Regions from separate parts of the Homo sapiens genome. Here regions 1, 2, 4 and 5 are each linked to region 3. Evidence: promoter capture Hi-C in 16 types of primary human blood cells and fetal thymus (Javierre and others, 2016). All regions are on one chromosome and are shown on one strand. The core of a region is centred on a gene start or on the middle of the fragment in contact, and the rest is flanking DNA. Distances in the headings are between cores, read along the strand shown. Region 1 has its middle 120 kb from the start of ATP1A1. Region 2 has its middle 78 kb from the start of MAB21L3. Region 3 holds the start of ATP1A1-AS1 (ATP1A1 antisense RNA 1). Region 4 holds the start of LOC124904384 (a long non-coding RNA gene). Region 5 has its middle 130 kb from the start of MAB21L3.

Region 1 (3,542 bases), core at 73-2,572, 160 kb after region 3:
CTTTTTGTAAGCATCTGTGATAAGTGTTATGCACAAAACACAAATATCAGCAACTATTCTCAAAATATTAATTTCTGACCGAACAAGGTTGCTCATCATGTCTATGACCAAGCACAAAAAATTTTGGTTAAATAATAAAGACTCATGTTTGTGATCACCCCACAGAGTCAGAGTTGGGTGTTAGGGCTCTGGAGTCCACATTCTGAATTTGCATCCTGGCTCTGCTACTCTCTGGCTCTGCGATGTTGGACTAAATCGCTTCACTTCTCTGAGTCTGTTTCCTCATCTATACAGTGAGTGCAATGAATAAGATTTACCTCATTGGGTTGTTGTGAGGATTGAATGCATTATGTATGTAAAGAGTTTGGAACAGTACCTGCCACACAAGCCGGGCTCAATAAGTATTAGCTATTATTACCTGGACTTGAATGTGCTTCCAATTGCAATCCCTACATTGGCTTTCCCAGCCTGATGACCTTTTACCCACATACCCACATTAGGAAATCTTGTTTGTAATTGCACTTCACTTTTTTCCTGCTAATAAATAATATTTTCCGTCTAAATCTACTGTTTACCTTCTGTCCCCCAGAATTTAGGCCCTTCAACACTTCCCCCTTTTCAGCCAATTCAGTGCTTGCTTCTTTTTATGAACTCCCAAGTCTCGGTGATTCCACCTTCCTGTGCCCTCAAGGCTCCAGTTTGAGCCTTTCTCACTGCGTATGTCTTCTCAATATGACCAAGAGTTTCCAGAGACCACAAAGAAGCTTCAAGTACATGTATGCCCCCAGAGCCTAGTACACACCGTCATGACCACTGAAGCCCTGTACCAGGAAGTAGCTGGCTAATGCCATAACTCATTCCATTCTTACCCAACCCCTGAACCATAGTTTCCTAATGTTAACTGGGGATGATGCTACCTACTTAACTGGATTGCTATAAAAATTGGAGGTGATGATATGGGCAAAGCCAGGTTAATGCTCAATAGCATTTACTATAGTATTATTATTTTCTACACCTGTAGAGGAAATAAAACAAATGAAAGTGCCTGCACTGGTTGAAGACTCCTTCAACTGTCACTTCCATTGTGCTCTACAATTCTCTTTCTCTCTTATTGTGGTAAAATACACATATCCTTAAATTTACCATTTTAACCATAGTTCACTTATGTTAAGCACATTGACATCATGGTGCGCACCATCTCTACAACTCTTTTCATTTTGCAAAACTAAAACTCTGTACCCGTTAAACAGCAACTCCTCCTCCCTCCTCCCCCTAACCCCCAACAACCACCATTCTACTTTCTGTCTCTGTGACTTTGAGCACTGTAGTTACTTTGAATGAGTGCGTACAGTCCTGTATGAGTACGGTACTTGTTCTTTCATGCCTATTTTATTTCACTTAGTGTAATGTCCTCAAAGTTCCTCCATGTTGTAGCATATGTCAAAATTTCCTCCCTTTTTAAGGCTGAACTATACTCCACATTGTTTTCATCCATTCATCCATTAACGGGCCCTTGGGTTGCTTCCATGTTGTAGCTATTGTGAATAGCGCTGCTATGAACATGGACATACAAATATCTCCTTGAGTTTCTGCTTTTACTTCTTTTGTGTAAATACCCAGAAGTGGAATTGCTGGATCATATGGTAGCTTTATTTTTAATTTTTTGAGGAACTTCCACAAAGGTTGCACCATCATACGTTCCCATCAACAGTGCACAAGGTTTCCAATTTCTCCACATCCTCACTGACACTTGTTATTTTCTAGGTTTTTCTTTTCTTTCTTTCTTTTTTATTTTTTAATAAGCACTATCCTAGTGGGTTGAAGTGGTCCATAATTGTCTTTTAACCCTTAGGGGGCTTCTCTGACCAAGGACAAGCTTCAGGGGCAGATTTCTCGATCACAGCCCCAGGGAGTGAGTGGATTTTGACAGAGGGAACACAGGCCCCAGAACCACACTCCCTGACTCATTTACTCATCAGAATTACCCTAAATTCTAGCATCTTAGTTTCACAAGTGAGAAAACAGACTCAGTGTGGTTAAATGGTCTTTCCACGACACACAGCTGGTATTCGAACTGGGCCCCACACCACATAGGTGTGGAAGAACTGCGGTGTATGTCAGCATTCACACTGTACAACCTGAGTTCAAGGTAAGGACATTTTCTCTCTGATTCTCCCTGAGCAATACAACCCTGGGCAGAAGCTTCCACCACCCCTAGCCCACAGCTGTTCAGGCACCTGAAGGACTGGGTGAATAGGCAACAAAGCTGACTGCATTTATTATTTAAGCAAGCATCCCAGTGCACCTGTTGTGGTATTATGTTCTATTTATGATTACAATAAAATGTGTAGTCCCAGCATTAGAAGGTTTATGAGAGTTTCCTCAACTCTAAAACTCAGAGGGAGGGAGGGGCAGGTGCCAGCCAGCTGGGGTCCCTTCAAATGTGACTTGGTTGCAGTGACGGGCATAAAATTGATGCATTGGGCTTGGTTTTGCCTGATTTTTGTCCAAACAGCAGCAGTTAGGGAACTCTCCCTCTGGCACAGCTGGGTGGGGTCACTGAGATATGAATGCTTGGTACAGAGTGGTGAACCAGGAGATAAGGCAGGGAAAGGCTCCCCAGGATCCCAGCCGGAGAGGACTGGTCCCATCCAACCCAGCCTAGCAGTCGGCTGGCCTGTTCTACTTGGAAGTCTTTGTCCCAGACACAGGTATCTTAACTGCACCCTAAGGGATTACTGGTCATTCAACCTGCAGCCCTGGTAGAAGCCTTGGGAACCTTTTAAAAGTGAACACATAATTACTTCATTATGTCTCTCAGCCACAGGTTAGCTAGACTCCACTGTCTTCATGCCTGTTCTATTTATTTCAGAAATGACCATCACTGTTGTGACGTAGGTGTGGAGGGGCTAGAGGCCAGCCCAGTGGGAACTGTACCCTCAAGGAAGGCTAGGACAGGGACCAAGGGGTTCTGGCAAGCCCAGCTTTCAACAGCAACATGGAGCAGATGACAGTGGAGGAAGGGCCTGAGGCTTTACCTGAAAGGAAGCCCAGGAAAGGTCTAAGTGATAAAGGAATCTTTATGGATGGGGTCCATAGTTGCTGTGGCTTTGACACAAATTGTGCAAATATCACAATCCATGAGCTTGAAAACCAAATGGGGAAAATGAAAAGGTATGTGGACAGCTGGGGATGCAGAGGGATCTGTCACGGGCCTCTAATCAAAAGGAATGCCAGGGCAGAATGTGTGGTCAGTTATCAAAACATTACAGTATACTTTGGGAGGCTGAGACGAGAGGATCACTTGAGCTCAGGGGTTCCAGACCAGCCTGGGTTACACAGTAAGACCTTGTCTATACTAAAAATTAAAATTAAAAAAATTAGCTGGGCATGGTGGCACACACCTGTTTTCACAGCTACTTGGGAGGCTGAGGCAGGAGAATCGCTTTGGAAAAGGGAAGCTAGGTGAATTGAAAGAAAGAACAAGGCACCTGCATTTTGCTGTCAAGACACTCTCCCCCAGGCTCAGGTTTCTTCATGCT
Region 2 (3,490 bases), core at 504-3,003, 230 kb after region 3:
TCTTTATCTTTCTCTCTCTCTGTTTCTTTCTTTTTTCTTTCTTGCTTCTTTCTTTTCTTTCTTCTTTCTTTCTTTATTCCTTTCCTTTCCTCCTTCTTTCTTTCTTTCTCTTTTTCTTTCTTTCTTTTTTTTTTTGGATACAGGGTCTCACTCTGTCACATATGCTGGAGTGCAGTGGTGCTATCACGGCTCACTGCAACCTCAACCTCCTGGACTCAAGGAATCCTCCCACCTTAGCCTCCCGAGTAGCTGGGACTACAGACCTGTACCATCATACCCAGCTAATTTTGTAGCTTTTGCAGAGAAAGATTTCGCCATGTTGCCCAGGCTGGTCTTGAACTCCTGGAGTCAAGCAATTCACCTGCCATGGCTTCCCAAAGTGCTGAGATTACAAGTGTGTACCACTGTGCCTGGGCTAGCTTTATTTCTTGCTAAACCACACTTCTCGTCTGAGAGCTCCAGCCATATTGTAATTCTCTCACATTCTCAAATAAGACTTTTCATAACTAGTTATCCCCATCTGAAACCCTTTTCTTCTCCTTAGCTCCTCCCTGCCCCTTTAGCTCCTAATCAGCTTTCAAGCTTGGGATTGGCCCTCACTTCCTCTGATCTCCTAAGCTAGATCAGAAGCCATGCCAATGCTCTCCTAACTCCTCATGGCCAACCCAGTCATAGCACTTACCACACTTTATTGTTATTGCTTGTTTAATTGTTGTTCTCCATCAGCCAGTTGTAAGCACCACAAAGGCTGAGAGTGTGTGCATCACTGTACTTTTAGTGCTGATACATGACAGATGCCTATTAAATGTGTACTAAACATAAACTCCTACTATAGGCCCTTCTCAGATGTTGGGCTGAGGGATAAGAGGATGAGGGAAATGGCAGGTGAAGGCAAAGATAACCAAGGCTCTATTGATGGGTTATTGTCCTGCAAAATCTCCCACAGAAGGCCACAGTGAAGTTCATTTACATCTCAGAAAACTCTGAATGTGTTATCTCTAACTTCACACCAAAAGATTCCTAGGTAGCCAATGTGATACAGAGAAAATATAGGGAGATTGAGAATACAAATAACAACCACTCAGTGAGCAACGGCAAAGTATCAGGTATGCTTTGGGTGATGAAGGTGTTCTTGAGTGACGAACACACAGTTGTCTTTGAATCTTCCCAGTATCTTTATAAGGTATGAAGTATTATTATTAGCCTTAGTTACCAATGAGGAACATGAGTCTTAAAGAAGGTAAATAACTTTCTCAGAGCCATCAATTGGTAAGTGACAACTAGGATTTGAACCCAGAGCTGTTATTTTTCATACACTACCCCAAAACCTGGGTTTAAAACGAGTGTATTTATGTGAGAGAAAGATTTTATAGTTGCTATGATTCCATTCATATAAATGGGGTCATACTACACATATCCACGCAACAAATACTTTTGAGCCATCCCATGTGCCCAGGACTGCTCTGGGCACTGAGAATACAACAGGGAATAAAATAGACTAAATGTTCTGAAATTTCCTTTATTCACTTTCAATGTATTGTTTAGAGTTATCCATGTCAGTACCATAATATCTTTTTCATTCTTTTTGACCACTGAATCATAGTTAATAGATCAGGAGAAACATCATTTATTAAATTTTTCTCTTATTGAAGATCATTTAGGTTATTTCTATTTTTTAATAAATTAAGCAATACTTAAGTAAACGTCCTTGCATGCACGTGTGTGTGTGCATGCACACATTTCAATTAGGTCAAATTTCTAAAGTATAAATTCCTGTAGGTGGAATTGCAAGGGTCAAAGGTTACGCACTTTTGAATTTAGATAGGTACAGTACTGCCAAATGACTCACCCCATACCTTTTCCTCAATGCTATAACAATTTAAACACCAATCAACACTGTAGTAGAGAATGTCCTAGATAGAACAATAAGATAAGAGAAAGAAATAAAGGGCATTCAAATTAGAAAGGAAGAAGTCAAATCACCCTTGTTTGCAGATGATATGATCTTATATTTGGAAAAACCTAAAGACTAAACTAAAAAACTATTAGAACTGATAAATTCAGTAAAGTTGCAGGATACAAAATCAACATACAAAAAAGTAACTTTCTATATGCCAATAACAAACAATCTGAAAAAGAAATTAAAAAAACACCATTTACAATAGCTACAAATAGAATAAATGCCTAGGAAACTTAACTAAATAAATGAAAGATCTCTGTAATGAAAACTGTAAAGCATTTATGAAAGAAATTGAAGAGGACACAAAACAATGGAAAGATATTCCATGTTCATGGATTGGAAGAATAAATATTGTTAAAATATCCTTACTACCCAAAGCAATTTACAGATTCAATGCAATCCCTATCAAAATACCAATAACGTTCTTCACAGAAATAGAGAAAAACTATCCTAAAATGCATATGTAACCCCAAAAGACTCAGAGTAGCCAAAGCTATCCTGAGCAAAAAGAATAAAACTGGCAGAATCACATTACCTGACTTCAAATTATACTATATAACCGAAAAGCATGGTACTGGCATAAAAACAGACTCATAAACCACTGGAACAGAACACAGAACTCAGAAACAAATCCATACATTTATAGTGAACTCATTTTTGACAAAGGTGCCAAAAACATACATTGGGGAAAGGAGTCTCTTCAATAAATGCTGCTGAGAAAACTGGATATACATATGCAGAAGAATGAAACTAGACCTCTATCTCTCATCATATATAAAAATCAAATCAAAATGTATTAAAGACTTAAATCTAAGATCTCAAACTATGAAACTACTAAAAGAAAACATTGGGGGAAACTCTCTAGCACTTTGGAGTAGGCAAAAATTTCTTGAGTAATACCTCACAAGTACAGAAAACCAAACCAAAAATTGACAAATGAGATCACATCAAGTTAAAAAGCTTCTGCACAGCAAAAGAAACAATCAACAAAGTGAAAAGACAATCTACAGAATGGGAGAAAATATTTGCAAACTATCCGTTTGACAAGGGATTAATAATCAGAATATATAAGGAGCTCAAACAACTCTATAGGAAAGAATCTAATAATCTGATTAAAAATGGGCAAAATATCTGAATAGACATTTCTCAAAAGAAGACATACAAATGGCAAATAGGTATAGAAAAAGGTGCTCCACATCACTGATCATCAGAGAAATGCAAATCAAAACTACAATGAGATATCAGGTCACCTCAGCTAAAATGGCTTGTATCAAAAAAACAGGCAATAATGAATGCTGGCAAGGATGTGGGGAAAAGGGAATGTAGATTAGTACAACCACTATAGAGAACAGTTTGGAGGTTCCTCAAAAAACTAAAAATAGAGCTACCATACAATCCAGCAATCCCACTACTAGGTATATCCCCCAAAGAAAGGAAATCCATATACCAAAGAGATACCTGCACTTCCATGCTTGCTGCAGCACTGTTCACAACAGCCAAGATGGGAAACAACCTAAGTGTTCATCAGTA
Region 3 (4,025 bases), core at 68-2,567:
AGGAGGCTGAGGCAGGAGAATGGCGTGAACCTGGGAGGCGGAGCTTGCAGTGAACGGAGATCGCGCCACTGCACTCCAGCCTGGGCGACAGAGCGAGATACCGTCTCACAAAAAAAAAAAAAAAAAAAAAAAAAGTGCACTTTAGATGTTTTCCTGGTGGGGGGGGGGGGGAGTGGGATATAAGTAGCAGTGTTCCAAGTACCAAAACCTCCCTGAGTCATCTGTGAAAAGCCATTTGGCAATAATACTGAAAGCTTTTAAATGCTCACATTCTGACTTAGCAGTTTCACTCCTGTGAATATAACCTAAGGAAACTGATCTCAATACTGAAAGGACTTTATACACAAGAATGGGCTGGGCAGCAAAGTGCTGTAATCCCAGCACTTTGGGAGGCCGAGGCCGGGTCGAGGGAGAAGCACCTGAGGTCAGAAGTTCGAGACCAGCCTGGCCAACATGATGAAACCCCGTCTCTACTGAAAGTACAAAAATTAGGTGGGCGTGGTGGCAGATGCCCGTAATCTCAGCTACTCAGGAGGCTGAGGCAGGAGAATCTCTTGAACCTGGAAGGCGAAGGTTGCAGTGAGCTGAGATCGCGCCACTGCACTCCAGCCTGGGCGACAAGAGCGAGACATCGTCTCAAAAAACAAACAAACAAACAAACAAACAACCAAACAAAACAAAAAAGAATGAATAATTTATAATCGTGAAGCTTTGGAAGCCACTTGAATGTTGAACATTTGCGAGATGCTCAGAGAAGTGACAGCGTATCAACCCAATTTTTTAAAGTCCTGCCATTAAAAATTATAGGTAGGAAGCGTCAGTACTAACACGGTGAAAATGTTCATGTTACAAAGTGGAAAACAACCCTGGATTCAGTTTAGTATGTGCGTTTTACCACAGCTATGTAGAAACAAATCCATACACATGGAAATCGAATGAAGTGAAACGCATGCAAATGGTAATGATGCTGTGCTTGGAGGCAGAATTGGAAGCAGTGTTAAAGTTATTTATCATCATTCGTGTTTTTAAAATGCCGTGTGATGGCCGCAATACTTCTGTAACGAATGATGTTTAAGCACGGAGCCCTTCACTGGCCGACGCGCGGGTGGGAGATAGGAGCCGCGCCCAAGCTCAGGTGGCGGCTGCGGGCAGGGCCGCCTGGGGCCGCAGCCGGGCGCGCTCCCGGCGGGGACCCTCTGCTCTCCTTGCAGACGGAGGCCGCGCCGGGTTTGGAGGCATCCCACAGCCTCAGGCCGAGGACCCGCCGCGAAGCGCCGCCTCCGCGGGTTGACCCTCTGCAGCCGCCGTAGCGCAGAGACGAATCCGCGCTCCCCCAGGCTGTCGCGCGAGCTCCCCGGAAGCTCCCACCTGAGCGGCGCATCCTCAGGGCCTGGGCCTGGCCTCCTTGCCTGTGAGATGGCACTGTGACGGTGCCCACCTCGTGGGGTGTGTGAGGGCCGAGTGAAATCGTGCATTTGCGGTAAGAAAGTGCTTATCACGGTGCCCAGTCCTAATATGGGCTGCCAGCCTAAGTACAGAGTCCCAATCCCAGCCCAAAGGCCAGTTTCCAGGTGAACCCTTGTCGGGGAGACCACCAGACGGAACAGTCCCAGTCTACACTCCTGCACCGAGCAGGGGACAGTGTGGACCGCAGAGAGGTCCGAAGTCCCTTTAGAATAAGGATGGTGCTTCAGGGTTGTTAAAAGGATTAAATGAGATGATATCTAAAGGGATTAGCACAGTGGCTGGTGCTAAAATAAATCATTTTCTCTACTGCCACTGCTCTTACAACCAGACGCCTGGAACAGCCTGCTGGTTCGTCTCCTCATTTGTAAGCTGGAGTTAGTAGGTGTGTTGTGAAGGTTGAGAGAATATGCATAGGCAGAACCTGGCGTTTAATATTTGGGAAGTGGCAGCAATTCTTTCTTCATTAATCTACAAGCTGCACTGTGGTAGGCACATACCCTTAGCACCGATTCTTATAAGTGCAGGTAAGAGAGAGAGAAGATATATTGTGTAAGTCGAAGGAGCCAGCCGTGTCCAGGCCACCGCAAAACCTCGACAGTACTGTACCAGGGCCCTCTTCAGTGAATGAATCTCCTCTTTGGCCTGTTTGCTGTCTGTTTGCATTTGCTGCACCCATCAGTTCCCAAACCTGGTCTCTAAAGTCAGGAGCTCAAGGAAGCTTGTCCCAATCCTAGAAAACAAGTACAGCACACACCAACAGCAGCATCCCTAAAAGCCAGCCCTACTGGCAATGCGGGCCCTGCAACCCGTAGGTAAGTGGGACACTCTAAGCTTCTTGGAAACAGCTAACTCAGGGCCTGATTAGCTTACTCCCGCCTCCTGTCTTCAGGAAATCAGACTGTGTAAAATAAGAGAGAAAAGAAAATTGACATAAGTCTATTCCACTGTCTAATGAAATGTGTTTCACTTGTGTTTAAAGTGAATTGTGGGCTGGCGTGGTGGCTCATTTGCCTATAATCCCAACACTTTAGGAGGCCAAGGCAGGCAGATGGCTTGAGCTCAGAAGTTTGAAATCAGCCTGGCAACATGCAAAAACCCCATCTCTACAAAAAATATAAAAATTAGCAGGATGTGGTGGCGCATGCCTGTAGTCCCAGTTACTCTGGAGGCTGAGGTGGGAGGATGGCTTGAGCCTGGCAGGTCGAGGCTGCAGTGAGCTGTAATCATGCCAGTGCACTCCAGCCTGGGTGACAGTCAGGTCCTGTCTCAAAAAAAAAAAAGTGAATTGTAGTACCAGCTACATTTGTAGAGCCCTTTCTCTTTACAGTCATGGTGCTAAATTCTCTGATCTCATTTAATCCTCCCAACCACCCTCACAATGCTGTGTCCATTTTACATATTGGAAAGCTAAGACTCAGGTTAAGAGAGACTTGTTGAAGGTCACAGCTAGTAAGCTGCAGAGAACCAGAAAGTGAATCTGGGTTGATCTTGACTCTAAACAGTTTGCTTTTAACAACTATACTCCTTTGAACATATTTACCCTATTTTCTTCATTAAGTAAAATGTTTTCTGTATCTTAATTTTCAGAACCTCTAATACAACATTTTGCAGAACGTATTTTCTAAGTATCCCCGATCCCCGCAATCCAGGCTGCCTTCTGTAACCTTTTAGTCATTGCAAACACATAGTAGATGCATGCTGAATTTGTGAGCTTGGCACCACACATGACAGGCTTTGGTTAGGGAATTCAGCTGCAAGCAACCAAACCCTCAGAGCCAAAGCCAGGGGTGCTAGGACCTCTGGCCCTGCAGTGGCCCTGATATGGCCTTTGTGTCCTGCCTCAGAGGCCTTTCTATCCCCACAGTTACTGGGACAAAATGTCCTATGCTTTCACCCTTATGTGGCTCCAGATGTAGGATTTAATTTTTTAGAAATCTGCAATACTGCAGCAGAAATGTAGTTATGAGTCAGGGATGTGTATGTGTGTGTGTCTGTGTGTGAAAGCCAGTCTCTCAGCACCAGCTAAAAATGTGAAGCAGCAAGTCTGTGCTGGGAATTGAGGACACCATATGCTTGCATTTCTAGGTCTTCCTAAGAGTTATATAACTGCCCCTAAAGCCAGGGGGCAGGAGCAGGGCCAGCCGTGGGAGACGTTTCCAAAGAGGAATGCTGAGGAAGGACTGACCTTGAGGAGACAGGGAGTTTGCCAGGCTGTGGAATGTTCCCAGCCTTGGGGCTTAAACAAAAACTGTATTCAGAGGGTGAGTGCTCTGTTGAGAACAAACCCTATCTGTCTCCTGCTTTGTCTCCGGAGCTTATCAAGGTGAGCCCTTTCTCTGCAGGTTCTGGATATTGAATTTAGAGGTGGGCACAGCTGCCAGAGCAAGGCCCTAGTAATCCTCCCAGCCATCTCTAATTAGCCGACTTCAGGGCCCTCCCCCCCCCCAACCCTTCTGTGTCCTGAGGGTCAGGCAGAGGGGAGATAAGAGCTCTCATCTATTCATAGAATAAGGTTGCAGAAAGGCACCCTGGGAGGAGAGCTGTGGGAGGGAACACAA
Region 4 (3,821 bases), core at 171-2,670, 250 kb after region 3:
GGAGCAGGAGAATCATCCAGCCCAGCCCTGCCCTAATTCCTGATCTAGAAAATCATGATACATAATAAAATGGTTGCTGTTTGGACAGGTGCAGTGGCTCATGCCTATAATCCCAGCACTTTGGGAGGTCGAGGAGGGCAGATCATAAGGTCAAGAGATCGAGACCATCCTGGCCAACATGGTGAAATCCCGTCTCTACTAAGAATACAAAAATTAGCTGGGCATGGTGGCATGTGCCTGTAGTCCCAGATACTTGGGAGGCTGAGACAGGAGAATTACTTGAACCCAGGAGACGGAGGTTGCAGTGAGCTGAGATCGCACCACTGCACTCCAGCCTGACAACAGAGTGAGACTCCATCCCAAAAAAAAAAAAAAGTTGCTGTTTAAGCCACTAAGTTTGAGGTTGTTTGCTATGTAGCAATAGCTAACTAGCACATGATGTTAATGGCATTATACTTGTCTGTGAAATTCTATGCAGTTTAGCATGCAAATATTGACAGATGTTGGAGAAAATATACGCAAATACACACATACATAATATGGGCTTGTGGAGGTGCATGACATTCTGTGCTATTCCCATTAACTTTGATTTCTCAAGTCAACTAAAATGGCCTGTGGATACATTTCCACAGCAAAATGTACAACAACTAAAAACAAGAACCTCCTTGTGAATTTTACTGAGGTCTGTGATGTGGCACCAAGTTCTATGTTGGGACTTGTGGAGGAGATGTAGGAAAAGCCGGTGAATTGTGCTGAAGGCTTGAGAAGGTGGGGTCCTTATACAATGAGGGCTTTGTCTGCTCATGAACCCTGTGTGGCCATTTCCTAAGGTAGAATTTTTAGTTTGGGAGAGATTTGCATTTTGAAAAAGAGGATTTTATTTCCTTCTCTCTCCAACTAATTTAAACCTCCCTCATCCCAAGGGAGATTTTTAGTGCAGTATAATAAGGACGCGTTCAGAATCACAGCCTCTTTTTCTGAATGTGTTTCTTATGTAAATGCTGCATCAGAGAAATTTCCCTCTACTTTACACTTTAATTCTGCTTTTAAAACCTGCAAAATAGAAACACAGAGAAAAAGACACCTTGAAAATACTTTGAGTTTCATCTATTTTCCATTTTTACCTCAGGCTCCCACATTTTATTTTTCATCCTTATTCTTCAAGTCAAGTATATTTTAAAACCATCCTCTGTTGAACTGGAAAAGCAAAGAAAAATTATGATTCCTATACATTAAGCTGCCCAAATATACCAAGAAATGCAAGCACTTTATAATGATCTAATAATCTCCGGATGCCACAGTGAAGCCAGAAGACCCACAGGAGGGGAGTCAAGGGACTTCTTAAGAGGTCCCATCTGAAGCCACTGTGGCCCCCTCCCCCACACCACAGTACTTCTGGAGGGGATGGGACAGGCCTGGTTCCATAGTTCTCTTACCTCCTGCCCTTAGGAAGAACTGTGTATTTAGTGTTTATGGCCCACCCACGGTACTCCAAACAACATCTAGCCTGAAACACCTCACTATAGTGATTTGTTGATATGTCCATTTGGTCCCTTGGGAGCAAAAGCAGTGAGGGAGAGAAGAATTATATCTCATTTCCATGGCTTCAGACAGCCAAATAGTACTTAAAGATTGAAAAATGTGCTTGGTCGGGCACGGTGGCTCACACCTGTAATCCCAGCACTTTGGGATGCCGAGGTTGGAGGAGTGCTTGGAGGAGTGCTTGAGACTGGGAGTTCCAGACCAGCCTGGGCAGCATAGCAAGACCCCAATGCTAGAAAAAAAAATTAGGTGGGCCTTGTGGCACATGCCCGTAGCCTCAGCTAATCAGGAAGCTGAGTCAGGAGGATCGTTTGAGCGCAGGGAGTCAAGGATACCATGAGCTATCATTGTGCCACTGCATTCCAGGCTGGGAAGCAAAGGAAAAAGCCGTCTCTAAAAAAAATTTTGAGAAGAAAAATTTAGAAAATATGCTTACTGAATAACTGATTGAAAGAATGGGTTTAAATATCAATTTAGGTACTTACTAGCAGCATTTCCTTGGGCAAGTTATTGAATCTCTAAGCAGGCCCTGGTTCCCTCCTCTGTGAAACAGAGAAAAGTTGCAACCAGCTCATGGATAGTTCCGGGGAATAAAGGGGGTAACATTTGTGAAGTGTGTGGCAGTATGTACCAGGCACACAGTAGGTTCTCAACTAAGGGCCCATCACACCGCCCCTCCAGACTCATCTGCTAACGCTCACAGAAGGAGTGGACCTTGCTTATGGGGTTGGGGAGCACCTGTAGGGTTTGCTGCACCCACAGCACTGCTCCACTTTCCTGGCTCTTGCTTGAATCAATGTCCTTAAGAACTTCGTCTAACTGGAGGCTTAGATTCTACTTTAAAGATAACTCTTTGGGGGGTGGGAGGTCCTTTAAGTGCCTATCAGTCACTGAAACCTCGGTATGAACTAGTTCCAGATCCTCCTCATAGAACATATTGCAATGCAGACGTGGAGCTAGAGAGGGCAGATGGGTGCCTGAGGCTGGGCTAGGGATGAGGTAGGGAAACGAGGGTGAGGAGAAAACTGGGAATGCTGGGTCCCCAAGGGAAGGAATCAAGAGGGGCGGTGTGTAAGGAAGCGTTCCCTGGGAGACAGGAAAACACTGCAAAGTCAGATCCAGGTTCAAATGTGAGCCTTTCTTATTGCTGGCAGTGTGACTGTGAGCAAGTGACTTAACCTCTTGAAATTGTAGTCTTCTGATCCGTAAAACGGGGCTAATACTAGCTAATATACGGGGTGACTCTGGGGATTAAGTGAGGAGACATATACAAAGCGTTTGGTAGAGGGTTGGTGGAGTAGTGGAGGGGGGACGGTGCAGTGCCCCGCTGGCTCCTGTACTCAGCAGTAGGTTAAGCAAGGTTTCATTTGCCGTCTATCTAGGCTGTGTTTATTACTTCCTTTCCCTCACCTCAATTTCTCAGTCTGTGCTCTTTTGCCTGGGGCCAACTGTGGCCGCAGTGACAGCCACCTGCATTAATTATGAGAGAATGCATCTTTTCTGAAATCTTCAAATCCCAAACCAGAGACAGAGGCTAGAGTACAATAATATTTCATTCTAGCTGGGACAGTCGGCCTCAACCACAGCTCCAGGAAGGAAATAGTGAAACCAATGCCGCCATTCAGTTGAAAGCGAGGAGAAAATACTAGTGCGTGGAAGACAATTCACCGTGCGGGTAGGGGCCCTCGGGCCTGCGCGGCTGCGATCGGGGCTGGCGCCACCGCGGACCCTCCGGGCGGCCGGCAGGAGGCGCTGCCGAACCTTCTCCGCATGCGCTTGGGGCGCAAGTGGGAGCCCTTCCCCCATCCCGGGCGTTGTTAAAACCCAGTGGGGCGCGGCAGCAGTTTTCCTCGACCCTTCCCGGTCCCCTGGCGGGGTGCTCCCGCCTCTTTGTTCTACTCCTCTGTGTCTTCATTTCTTCTCTTCCCACCCCATCCCCGCAGAAGGCTCGGCCCGCTGCTCCTGCGCGCCCTCTCCAGGTGCCCCAGCGCCCCCTCCCCAGGTGCCCCAGCGAGGGGCAGTGGGCCCCGACCCACCGCAGCACAGTGGGCGACCGGTAGCGCGGCCATTGTCGCCGCCTCCCCATCCTCCCTCCTTAGCTTCTCCTTTCCCTCCTCCTTGCCGCTTCATCTTGCCCCCTTTCTGCCCACCTTCTCTTCCTTCTTCTCTCCCCGCCCACTGTAGCCTCCCTCTTTCTGAACACGTCCCAGGAGAAGGCTGGTGCTGCGGACAGCGATCCCAGCACCCCTCTGGCCTTTTGCTTCCCTTGCTTCCCGGGG
Region 5 (3,834 bases), core at 1,177-3,676, 180 kb after region 3:
TCCCCACACACCAAGAAAGCAAGCAATTCTGTAGCAGACATCATCTGGGTGTCCTCCAGTTCAATTTAATTCTAGCATTATGCACCTGGAGATAGTGTCAGTAACCACAGGTTGAGGGCTCAGTCCCACAAGAGCACCCCCTCCTTCCCACCAGTCACAAGTCTGGGCTTCTAGAACTACTCATCAACTGGCTCCAAGTTGGGGTTACCACAACCCCCTCTTTGGGTTCAATTAATTTGCTAGAGTGGCTCATAGAACTCAGGGAAACACATTTACTGGTTTATTACAAAGGATATTTTAAAGGATACAAATCAACAGCCAGATGAAGAGATACACAGGGTGGAGTCTGGAAGGATCCTGAGTGTAGGAGCATCTGTCCCCGTGGAGCTGGGGTGCACTCCCCTCTCAGCTCGTGCATGAGTTCTTGTTCACCTTCCTATAAGCCTCTACCTATTTATTTTTCTGGAAGTTTCCCAAACCCTGTCTTCTTCGGTCTTTTATGGAGACTTCATTGAGTAGGCATGATTGACAACCAGGTAGAAATGCTATTGGACCAAAAGAGTATGGTCTCATGCTAACAGACTGAGTGGGGAAACCCAGCAAGGCCTGTTTGTTCAGATTCTTCTTGGCCTCTGTGTGCAGCATTCCTTCCTTCTGGGCATGGGGCAGGACCCTTTCTGAAATGAGGATCTTATGGTTTACAATCAGACAAGTAGGTCAGGAAAATTTCTTCATGGCCAGCTCCAAGACAGAAAAGTGAGGGAAGATGAAAGGAGGAAAGGAGGGCAGGAGAAAGTCAGAGAGAGAGAGAGAGTCTGTTTTCTGAGGCCTTCTTCTGAGGCCTGAAGCACTCCAACATTATAGCAAAAGACTGCAACAAGGGCTTTAGGAGTTATGAGCCAGGGACCATGGATGAAAACCAGAGTATATATATGTCATAATACCGCACTTACCACATAGCCCATTCATTTCATCATGGCTGTCAGAGCTCTAATTTTGTTTGGATGTCTACTGGTCTTCCTCAAGGAAAGATACCTCCCAACTCTAAGAGAAATTAGATCACAGTAATTGGTTGGGGCCAATTACTGTGATCTAATTTCTCTTAGAGTTGATTAGGTTCAGCATGGACATTTCATACAATTCTGGTCAGTGAACGATGAAGAGAAGTTTAATGGTTAGAGGAAGGTGAGGCACTTTTTGAAAGTTTCTTGATGGCAGAGACCTTGGTAAATACTTTTGCAAGCAGGAGGGGAACTAGCTGGGAATAAGGAGACAGAAAGAAAATGTCAGAAGCAAGAAATAAAAAATATTTGAGTCCTTGAGTCCATTGATGATTGGAGTAACCAACCAAGGTGTATCACAATTTCTTTGTATGTGAGAAGATATATTTTCCTTATTGTTTAAGTAGAAATATTAGTGACCTCTTAATCACTGCCAAATTCATTAGAATGCTTTATTATTATTTTATATTATCATTTTACACATGAGGTAATTGAAACTGAAAGAGCTTAAGTAAGTAATTTACGCAAGATCAACTGCTTGTAAAATGTTACTCTGGTTCTAGGACTTTTAAGCACCTCACAATGCTCCCTCTCTGAGAAAGGGGCCTGATCTTGCTCAGTTTTTTAATCCTTGCTTCTAGCACAGTGTCTGGAATATAATTAGTGTTCAATAAATACTTTTTAAATATGTGAGAGCTTATGTGATCTGAATTTTTGTAGATATCCTTTCCTTTTGTTTTTTCGAGATGGAATTTCGCTCTTGTCACCCAGGTTGGAGTGCAATGGCACAATCTTGGCCTCCCAGGTTCAAGCGATTCTCCTGCCCTAGCCTCCCAAGTAGCTGGGATTACAGGCATATGCCACCACACCTGGCTAATTTTGTATTTTTAGTAGAGATGGGGTTTCTCCATGTTGGTCAGGCTGGTCTCAAACTCCCAACCTCAGGTGATCTGCCCACCTCGGCCTCCGAAAGTGCTGGGATCACAGGCATAAGCCACTGCACCTGGCCTGTAGATATCCTTTCCTTAACATCACTCAATAGGCTGATATTCTCGGTACAGAAAAATATATTTCATTTGGATCCTGAAACACTCCAACTGGGTACCCTGAAGAAGGAAGTATTTCAAATATGGAAGCAATGTAACTGTATTACAAACAGAATAATAATGAAAATAACCCCCATAGCCTCTCCAGTCTAACATAATTGCCATTGCAAGGGGTTCCCTTTCAGCCCACTTTGTATGCATACTGGGCAATTCAGTAGACACATAAAACACACTTGATAAAAGTTAATATCCATTTCTAATTTTATAAAAATTGTGGCAAACGAGAAAAGAGAATACTTTTCTAGCCTTATAAAGTATATCCCTCAAAAAATTACTGCTTTTAATGTTGAAAATATGAAAATAATTTTCCCTTAAGTTTAGGATCAAGACTATCTCTGCTTCACTACTTCTACTCATCATTATATTGAAAAATCCTATCTAGTGGATTAACACAAGAATAATAAAGTTGAAAAGACAGGAAAAAAAGGAACAAAGCTATTATTATTCACGGGCAATTTTACTATCTACAAAAAAGACAAGGCCAAGAGAGTCTACAGAAACACTATTAGCCCTAATAAAAACTGTCTGCCAGGTTGCTAGATCAATATACACATTGTAATCCAATATATCTGCACCAATTAGAAAAGGTAATTTTTAAAAACACCATCTTCAACAGCAACGAAATCTATAAGGCTCGTATGCATAAAACCCACAACAAGAGTTAAGCAAGACCCCTGTAAAGAAAATTATCAGAATTTACTGAAAACCATTTAAAAAGACCTAAATAAGTGAAGAAATATGACAAACTTATGAACTTAGATTATTATAAGATTTCCAATCCTTCCCGAGTTAAACTATGAATTTTACACGAAGAAGAACGAAGAGGGAACTTGACTTACTAAGTATTGATACTTGATATAAAGTTATATTATTTAAGATTTCAAAAGCATCAGGTAGACCAGGGCTTCTCAAACTTTCATGCTCCAACTGTGACTCTTGTGGAGATCTTGTGAACCACAGATCCTTTATTAAGAAGGTCTGGGGTGGGGCTTGAGACCTAACAAGCTGCCAGGTGATGCTGGTGCTGCTGGTTCATGGACCACACTTTGAGAAACAAGGGTATAAATAATTAAAAGAACATAAGACGGAGCTCAGAAGCAAACCCATGCATTTATGAAAGCTGGCTATATGATAAAGATGTCATAGCAGATTGGTAGGAAAGTGAACTATTTAATACTTTTGGCCCAATATCCTGAAAAAGGAGGAGCAGGAGTGTCAGAGTGAGAGATTCTATGTAGCCGGCTTTGAAGATGGAGGGAGAGGCCACAAGCCGGGAAATGTAGGCACCCAGAAGCTGAAAAAGCAAGGAAATTGATTCCCCGCAGGAATGCAGCCCAGCCCACATCTTGATTTTAAGCCAGTGTAAGCCAAGTCAGACTTCTGACCTCCAGAACTAGAAGATAATACATTTTCTGATTTAGTCACTAAGTTTGTGGTAATTTGTCAAAGTAGCATGAAGAAACTAGTACACCATATAATAAACGGTGCCATAAAACAAAGCAAAAAGAGAAGCCACAGGTGGGAAGAATTTTGCAAAGCATATAGCCGACAAAGGATTTGAATACAAAAATTCAAGACAAACTACAAATTAACGAAATAAGACAAGTGACCCACTAGAAAAAGGGGCAAAAGACATATACAGAATTCACAGAGAAGGAAACCTCTGTGTTGGCCAAGAGAAATAAGAAGAGATATACAACCTCACCAACAATCTTGGGAATAAAAAT

Evidence for each region. The method cuts DNA at HindIII sites, captures the fragments that hold promoters and counts their contacts. A CHiCAGO score of 5 or more calls a contact.
Region 1: a contact is called between a fragment that was not itself captured here and the fragment with the promoter of ATP1A1-AS1 in region 3, in 3 of 17 cell types (non-activated CD4 T cells, naive CD4 T cells and total CD8 T cells). The highest score is 7.0, in non-activated CD4 T cells.
Region 2: a contact is called between a fragment that was not itself captured here and the fragment with the promoter of ATP1A1-AS1 in region 3, in 1 of 17 cell types (non-activated CD4 T cells). The highest score is 5.0, in non-activated CD4 T cells.
Region 4: a contact is called between a fragment that was not itself captured here and the fragment with the promoter of ATP1A1-AS1 in region 3, in 13 of 17 cell types (non-activated CD4 T cells, naive CD4 T cells, total CD4 T cells and 10 more). The highest score is 16.6, in non-activated CD4 T cells.
Region 5: a fragment that was not itself captured here is called in contact with the fragment with the promoter of ATP1A1-AS1 in region 3 in 6 of 17 cell types (naive CD4 T cells, non-activated CD4 T cells, total CD4 T cells and 3 more); the score reaches 13.8 in naive CD4 T cells.

What each region holds. Positions count from the first base shown.
Region 1 is chr1:116,256,146-116,259,687 of GRCh38, reverse strand. No RefSeq gene overlaps it. Among named protein-coding and RNA genes, the nearest start is that of ATP1A1, 120 kb to the left of the region's middle. The HindIII fragment of the contact is 1,112 bases long and covers 767-1,878 here.
Region 2 is chr1:116,188,043-116,191,532 of GRCh38, reverse strand. No RefSeq gene overlaps it. Among named protein-coding and RNA genes, the nearest start is that of MAB21L3, 78 kb to the right of the region's middle. The HindIII fragment of the contact is 2,338 bases long and covers 585-2,922 here.
Region 3 is chr1:116,415,914-116,419,938 of GRCh38, reverse strand. It overlaps ATP1A1-AS1 (ATP1A1 antisense RNA 1), which reads left to right and starts at 1,317. Exons shown (of 3, transcript NR_027646.1): 1 at 1,317-1,480. RefSeq lists a silencer at 1,109-1,238 and enhancers at 1,198-1,492, 3,674-4,025. The HindIII fragment of the contact is 1,476 bases long and covers 712-2,187 here.
Region 4 is chr1:116,168,012-116,171,832 of GRCh38, reverse strand. It overlaps LOC124904384 (a long non-coding RNA gene), which reads left to right and starts at 2,993. Exons shown (of 2, transcript XR_007066496.1): 1 at 2,993-3,217. RefSeq lists silencers at 331-625, 2,013-2,196, 3,261-3,370 and an enhancer at 2,971-3,060. The HindIII fragment of the contact is 6,818 bases long and covers 1-3,821 here.
Region 5 is chr1:116,236,894-116,240,727 of GRCh38, reverse strand. No RefSeq gene overlaps it. Among named protein-coding and RNA genes, the nearest start is that of MAB21L3, 130 kb to the right of the region's middle. The HindIII fragment of the contact is 5,307 bases long and covers 1-3,834 here.